Linked DNA regions of Homo sapiens: region 1 is linked to region 2. The links are contacts of gene promoters, found by promoter capture Hi-C in blood cells and fetal thymus (Javierre and others, 2016). All regions are on one chromosome and are shown on one strand. Each heading gives the region's core, a stretch centred on a gene start or on the middle of the fragment in contact. The rest is flanking DNA. Distances are from core to core; before and after follow the strand shown.

What was found. Contacts are between HindIII fragments. The CHiCAGO score rates a contact against its expected background, and 5 or more counts as called.
Region 1: a fragment that was not itself captured here is called in contact with the fragment with the promoter of BRAF in region 2 in 1 of 17 cell types (megakaryocytes); the score reaches 5.5 in megakaryocytes.

Annotation. Positions count from the first base shown.
Region 1 is chr7:140,753,649-140,757,655 of GRCh38, reverse strand. BRAF (B-Raf proto-oncogene, serine/threonine kinase) reads left to right here. Exons shown (of 18, transcript NM_004333.6): 14 at 3,423-3,469. Among named protein-coding and RNA genes, the nearest start is that of NDUFB2-AS1, 59 kb to the right of the region's middle. The HindIII fragment of the contact is 1,085 bases long and covers 1,895-2,979 here.
Region 2 is chr7:140,922,848-140,926,848 of GRCh38, reverse strand. It overlaps BRAF (B-Raf proto-oncogene, serine/threonine kinase), which reads left to right and starts at 1,920. Exons shown (of 18, transcript NM_004333.6): 1 at 1,920-2,283. The coding sequence starts at 2,146. It overlaps LOC105375536 (a long non-coding RNA gene), which reads right to left and starts at 1,757. Exons shown (of 5, transcript XR_002956518.2): 1 at 347-1,757. RefSeq lists a silencer at 2,028-2,097. The HindIII fragment of the contact is 2,638 bases long and covers 1,381-4,001 here.

The sequences.
Region 1 (4,007 bases), core at 1,188-3,687, 170 kb after region 2:
CTTTTTTAGTGAAAGCTAAAGTTTTAATCTGAAATTATAGACCATGTCTACAAAATTTAAAATCCTAAGGCTGGGCGTGGTGGCTCACGCCTGTAATCCCAGCACTTTGGAAGGCTGAGGCAGGCAGATCACGAGGTCAAGAGACTGAGCCCATCCTAGCCAACATGGTGAAACCCCATCTCTACTAAAAACACAAAAATTAGCTGGGCATGGTGGCGCGCGCCTGTAGTCCCAGCTACTCAGGAGGCTGAGGCAGGAGAATCACTTGAACCTAGGAGGTGGAGGTTGCAGTGAGCCGATATCGCACCACCGCACTCCAGGCTGGTGACAGAGTGAGACTCTGTCTCAAAAAAAAAATCCTAGTCAAGTCCAAAAAAAGAGAAATATACAAGTATAAGATGGGGAAAATGTTTTATAGGAGCAATTCAAGAATAATTATTCTAGGATTGTAATTGAATATAATCCTTTTTGTGCCCTTTTTTAAAAATTCTATTTATTGTCATAAATTTTGACCCAGCAGCAGGAAGCATGTAATTAAATATAATTTTAATTGGACTCAGTAGCATGACTTTGGCTGCCATAACAATCACAATAATGTCTGATTTAATGTTGTATGCCCACCATGTGGGAGATGAAGATGAGGATCTCACCATAGTTTGTGTTGGTTAGATCCGATCTGAAGTATTGCTTTTAATTTGGGGCACCACATTATGCTCTGTAAGAATGTGGAAAAGCTGAATCTTGGATAAGAGCTTGAAGTAGTGTGAGAAGAAATTTTACCAGATGATTTTGTAGCTCTAAGATTAAATGGTTCTATAGGTGGACACTTTTTCTTCAAGGAATGAGACTGTTAAGAGAAACCTATCAAGAGAATGTGTTGTTCCTTTGGTTGATAGCATATTTGTTCTTTCCTAGTACTTCTGTAAAACTGTAATGCTCTCCTTAACATCTTACCAAGGAAAGAGGGAGGTCCAATCTAATTATCCTAATTAATGGATTGACTTCTGTGTCATATATGGCAAAGTAAAGTTGATATATTCTTGTTCCCTTCCCTACTCCCAAACAGTTATGTGAGTTATTTGTTTTCTGTTATTTTTGTTTGGGTTTTTTTTTTGGCATTTTCCATTGTAACTGGGTGGTGCTTAGGAAATTACGTTTTAGTGTCCCCCTATATAGAATTATTTAGGGTAGTGATTACTGTGAAACATTATCTTATGTAGGGATTCGGTTGTGTCTCATCCCATTTCTCTAGCTGGGGGATTAGACCCCCTTTTCCTTCCAGCCTTTCATTCTACAGACCTGGACTTCTACTCTTTGCTGCTTTTGTTACAGAAGGATTACAGAAAGAGAATTATTCAATGAGATAAAAATTAACAAAGCAGTTTGTAAGTAATAAAGGATTACACAGGTATAAAGTGTTGTTTCAGGTTGTATTTTTATGCAACTCGGCCTATAACAAATTTATGCTATATAACTTCTATGCTGGGTATATCACTGGTTCCCCAATTACATTTATATCTTGTTAATTATCTAGTGCTTTCCTGGTCAGAAAATTTCTCTCCCCACTCTCCCCAGTTACATTTCTGTCTACTCTATTCTTGCTATATTCCTCTGCATCAAATTTGTTGAAAGGATTAACACCATCCCATGGAGAACACCTTTATCTTCCCCTCTTTTATCTTCAGCATGCCTCTGTATTTTGATATGGTTGAAGCCCATTTGTTTTTGTTTTTAAGTCTTGCAGGAAAAAGAACCTCCTTTCAAAGACCAACACCTTGGCTGTATACTAGATCCCAGGTCTCTCTGAGTGCAGGACCTAGCTCCACCAACCAACACCATCATCATTTATCCCCCTTTCTTTCTAATGGAGACAAGATCTCACCATCTTAAAGCTTTGATTGGGGCCCATTTATTTCCACCAGTTTTTAACTTTGTATGTCACTGCAGAACTTTGTAAGCAGTGAGACCTATAACCGAAATAACATTTTCTTTCAGTGAAAGAGTGACAATATGATGTAGAACACTGAGCCTAAAGTCATGACAAGATAATTTTCAATTGTAGTAAATGCTATGAAGAACATAAACTGTGATATGAATAGTAATTGGAGAAGGGATTACTTTAGATAAATAGTAATTTGAAATGAAAATTTTATCTAGAAAATACTTTAAAATTTTTGATATTGGGAAGAATGAGGACGTTTAAATGAAGATGAGACAGCATGAATAATCTTGGTTATTTGCAAATCTTCCACTTTTAACAGTGTTTATTGCATGATTTTGATTATACCATTTGGATTTTAAATTCTCATTTTAAGGTAAAACTGTCTAATGATCATTGTCAGATTTCAGAAGTGTCATATAGCTATTCTCTCCGGTATTCAATTAAGAAAAATAACCTTGACTAGCACATTATATGCATCTTATTGTAGTTGATTCAGTAGACATGTATTGAATACTTACCACACATACCAAGCACTGTTCTCGGCACTGGGTATACAAAGAAATAAACAAGACACAGCCCTTTTGAGACAGGAGGATCTCTTGAGCCCAGGAGGTGGAGGTTGCAGTGAGCCAAGGTCGTGCCACTACACTCCAGCCTGGGTGATAGAGTAAGACTTTGTCTCCCCAAAAACAACAACAACAATGCTGCCTTTTACTTCAATGAATGTAGCTAAAGCAGTTTTTAGGGGTAACATAGATGATTTTAAAGTTATCGTTGACTTTAAAATAGACCTACTATGGCCATTTTAGAGAAAGTTTTCTCCTCACTAGTTTTAAGAAAATATTTTAAGAATATATGACAACTACCTTTAAAAATAGTTTTAATTACCAAACTGCATGTTCTAGTAGTTTACATTCCAAATAGAAGTGAACATAGGCACGTTGAAAAAACACATGAATCAAGCCATTATTATGATAATTACTACATAAGTTGAGCAGTGAAAGAGCACTTTCAGTTCGGTTAGTCATGGGAAAGCTTCACTCAGGAGTTAGAATTTGTATTCAGTTTTAAAGGATGGATATGAATAGGTGGAAAATAGAACGAAAGCTAACTTGGAGGGTTGGGTGTAGGAGGGGAGCATTGAACACAGTGGTGGGATTAAATATCAAGGTATATTTAAGGGACATGGATAAATAGGCTTGACTGGAGTGAAAGGTTTGTATTGGTAACTAGTAAAAGATAAAGCAAAGTCTTTTAATAGAAAACAAGATTTTGACTGTACCATTATAGTGATATGTTCCTATAATCTTAAATTCATTTACAGTCTATTTTAATATTCTGTGAAGGGTTTATTACAATGTACTATTTTCAGTTGTATCATGATTCTAAATAAGTCTTTACACCCCCAAGTATGTTCTGTAGATTTCGAGGCCAGAGTCCTTTAGCCCTACTCAGGTTAAAATGATGTTTTGTTTTTCAGTTACTTACACGCCAAGTCAATCATCCACAGAGACCTCAAGAGTAATAGTATCCTTCCTGAAATTTGTCTGCGAAGTTTGAAAACATCCTGACTTTTTCTTCTGCATTTTGTCTTCACATTATGTAAAAACAGTTTTCATGCTAAGTTCGATATACTGTAAAGAGAATTAATAAAGGATTGTGCATGCATGTATAGGAGAGCAGGATACCACAGCCTGCTTTTGGTTTCTCGACAACTGAACATTACAAGAAAATCTATCAGAAGTCTTTACAATAGTAGGAGTTTTTGATTGCTTGCTTACATTTTATCAGCACTATAAAACTGATAGTTTTGTAGCTATCTATTAGTCCCTTTCAGACCTCTGACCTTGCTCAGTGGTAGTTGAGATATAACTGAAGACTCTAAATTATATAACAATGAGGTGAGAAAAACATAATATTTCTCTTCCCTAAGTGCAGACTAAGATACTATCTGCAGCATCTTCATTCCAATGAAGAGCCTTTACTGCTCGCCCAGGAGTGCCAAGAGAATATCTGGGCCTACATTGCTAAAATCTAATGGGAAAGTTTTAGGTTCTCCTATAAA
Region 2 (4,001 bases), core at 671-3,170:
AAGGAAGTGTTATAATGATATAACATTTTTAGCAGCTAATTTTTTAAAAATGAAATAGGACAGTTAGAGAATTAACAAAAATCTTGCCAGTTGTGTTTCTGATGAAAGGGTGATGAAAGGGTGATGAAAGGGGAAAAGGTGCCATGACTGGCTAATGGTGCTATTTCAGTCTGCTTCTAAGTATGTCCTTATAGTAAAGGGTGCTTCAGATTAGTTTAGCTTGATGACATCATCCCTTGTGATCATTTACTCTACATTTGCCAAGCCACTTTTTGATTTAAATTTATTTCCTCATAGAAACTTTCCTACTTGGAGGAGAATGTACAATGAAGTTAACAAAGCATACCATGTTCATGTTTTTTTTTTTTTGGAGACAGAGTCTGGCTCTGTTGCCCAGGCTGGAGTTCAGTGGTGCAATCTCGGCTCACTGCAACCTCTGCCTCCCAGGTTCAAATGATTCTCCTGCCTCAGGCTCCTGAGTAGCTGGGATTACAAGTGTGCACCACCACACCAGGCTAATTTTTTGTACTTTTAATAGAGATGAGGTTTCACTACGTTGGCCAGGCTGGTCTCAAACTCCTGGCCTCAGGTGATCCATCCGCCTCAGACTCCCAAAGTGTTGGGATTACAGGCGTGAGCCACTGCGCCCGGCCTACAATGTTCATCTTATAGGTTATATTTTTTCAATGCAGAAGAATGTTAGTATTCTCATTCATCAAGCAGCCTCACACAGCATCCTTTACCTGAGAGTAAGCATCAGCTCCCAGGCTTACGGTGACCCTAATCAATATGAAGACACCCTGTTTCAGAAGTCAGTAGGACACCTTTCTATTTCTTGAATCATCCAAAATACAGTAAGGAGGTCGCTGGTGACTTCCCCCATGATGGGAAGTACTAAAAGGCAGAATCCACTTAGTTTTTCATGACTTCATGTTTAGGTTACTTTGGTGATTCACTCCAGGCCATTGGGAGCCCACAGTAATTGTTTCTCATTCCCGTTTCTCTCTTCCTTAAACTTTTCTTTTCCAATTATTTATTCTTTATTAGATCCATGTATTTTTAATAATGAATTGAATTTCATTCTGTAATTGGGCTTCTCAAAGATAATTGACCTCTTCTCTCCCAATTGTTTTCATGCGTATTTTGCAGAGAATGCTTGGAATATTCTGTTCATGAAAGGCACAAAGTACATAAAATATTTTGAGTGATTTTCTTCAAAATAAAAATGATTAGTTTTGATGCTTCAGATGTCTAGAATGCTATGTGCCTTGTACAGGCCCTACGGCATGGAAAGTGCTCAACTGATATTTGTTAAATGAATGAATCTGGAAAACGAAAAATACACGAAATATTTTATTCCTCAACAATGAAGAAAAAGCTTTCAGACTTCCATTTAGACTCGTTTTAACTGGCTGAATTCTTCAATGAAAAGAAAACACGCGTCGCACTGCTAATTTAGCTGTTCCTAAATATATTTCCATCAAATTCTGCTTGGCTGTTTCAACCTTGGGGTTGAAGTTCTTATTTTGATGACACAGAGACGTTCATTGCAGTGGAAATAGCAAGTAGTATTGGCTTCCCCGCCTTCCTCCCTCTAGGATTTCAACTTCTCCTCCTCGAACACCAGCCCTGCTCTTCTAGTAAATCCCACATTACAGAACAGGCTGAGGACGGAGGAGACAAGAGGAAAGTAGGAAACCGGAGCCATGGAAACGGCGGAGCGGAGGCAAAGTGTGAGAGCGCGGGTGGTTAGAAGGGAAAAAACCCTCCCCGGACGACGGCGCGAAGGCGCGCCTCAGATTACGTCACGCACCGGGGTGACGTCACGACCGTGACACGCGGGTGACGCCGTTGCCGCGGCGACTTCTCGTCGTCTCCGCCCCCTTCCCCCGCTCCCCCCCGCACCCCCGCCTAGCGTCCTTCCCCCAATCCCCTCAGGCTCGGCTGCGCCCGGGGCCGCGGGCCGGTACCTGAGGTGGCCCAGGCGCCCTCCGCCCGCGGCGCCGCCCGGGCCGCTCCTCCCCGCGCCCCCCGCGCCCCCCGCTCCTCCGCCTCCGCCTCCGCCTCCGCCTCCCCCAGCTCTCCGCCTCCCTTCCCCCTCCCCGCCCGACAGCGGCCGCTCGGGCCCCGGCTCTCGGTTATAAGATGGCGGCGCTGAGCGGTGGCGGTGGTGGCGGCGCGGAGCCGGGCCAGGCTCTGTTCAACGGGGACATGGAGCCCGAGGCCGGCGCCGGCGCCGGCGCCGCGGCCTCTTCGGCTGCGGACCCTGCCATTCCGGAGGAGGTGAGTGCTGGCGCCACCCTGCCGCCCTCCCGACTCCGGGCTCGGCGGCTGGCTGGTGTTTATTTTGGAAAGAGGCGGCGGTGGGGGCTTGATGCCCTCAGCCACCTTCTCGGGCCAGCTCCGCGGGCTGGGAGGTGGGCATCGCCCCCGTGTCCCTCTCCGTCATGCAGCGCCTTCCTACGTAAACACACACAATGGCCCGGGGGGTTTCCCTGGCCCCCACCCCAGATGTGGGGATTGGGGCAGCGGTGGTTGAGCGGGAGGCTATCAATAGGGGGCGAAACTCAGGGTTGGTCCGAGAAGGTCACGATTGGCTGAAGTATCCAGCTCTGCATCTCTGTGGGGTGGGGGCGGCGGCGGCCTCGACGTGGAGGATATAGGTTAGTTGCTGGGGCTGAGACAACAGCCCGAGTTACTGTCGCGTGTAATTCTTACATGGTCGTGGGGATGATGGGGCTCATCATTTCCTCTCTCCTCTCCCGGACTGCCCCCCTTCTCAGTCCGCTGCCCTTTTTCACTTTTCTATTTGGGGATTTCTCTTCACCTGTTTTACCCAGCAAATTATTTTGATTTAGTCTTTACTTTTTCAATCCTAAATCGCAGTTTCCGATGCCTTTTCTGGTCTCTGGTCCTCTGTTCCTAATGTTTGTCAGCGCTCTGTCGCTGATTGGTAACCCCCATTCTATTCCCATCTACCGCCCGCTCATTTTCCAGTTGTCGGACCTGCCTGCCTTCTAACCCCAGCTCCCACTTAAGAGCATTTTTGCACTTCTCTTACCCTGGTCCTCTTGAGGCTCTGTACTTGATCTCACCACTCCCTAACATTGTTGTCTGTTGTTATCTTCACAAATCCTCCTGGACACTTTGGAGCTACTTGTTTTCTGAGCCCAGAAGCTGTCAAGATTCCATCAGGTTTCACTTGGCTCTTTTCGCGCTTGCACTACTGGCACTTTTTGGCTAGTCGTCCATTGTGCATTCACACCTCTTTATTCCTACCCATTTTTATAGGTCTGATTGATTTCTTAGTGTTGTCCTCCTTTTTGTCCTATTTTTTTCCTTTTCCTTTTTCCTCTCCAGTCCTTGCTTCTCTCAGCCTGTTTTTGCATTAGTCAGCCTCTTAGCACTGTGTCAAATTATTTACGTTTTTTTATTACATAAAATTTATTACAAATATTTGGTATTTTATTACAGAAAATAATACTTTATTATGCTTTACAAATAAGATATGGTATAATAATTGTGGTTTACAGTTATTGATTAGGTAATGTGACTTACTCTGTTGACTTTGCTCGAAGTTCTCTTTGCTACTTACTATTAACATCTAATTTCTCAATTCTCATAACATCTCATTCTCTCTGCAATTTTTTTTTTGCATCATCATCTTTGGAAATTCATCCAATATGCTTGCTTTATTCAGCATCAGCTTGTTTATGATAATGTTTGTTTTCTACTCTTTATATCATCTTTGTTACATGCCCAAAATGTGTTCTGTACCATCATTTGATCTGTTCTAAAATTTCTCATTTTTAAGTTTCTTAAAATCATTCCACTTTTCAGTATGCATTTTTGCTTAGATCAGTTTCCTCTCATATCTGTTCCTTTCCCCCAGCTTCTTGATTTCTAAGGAGAAAGCTCTTCTCTACTTCAATTTCCTAGTTTATTCTGTTTCCCTTGTTTCCAGTTACCATTCATTTTGCCTTGTTTCCTGGCTTTTGGTA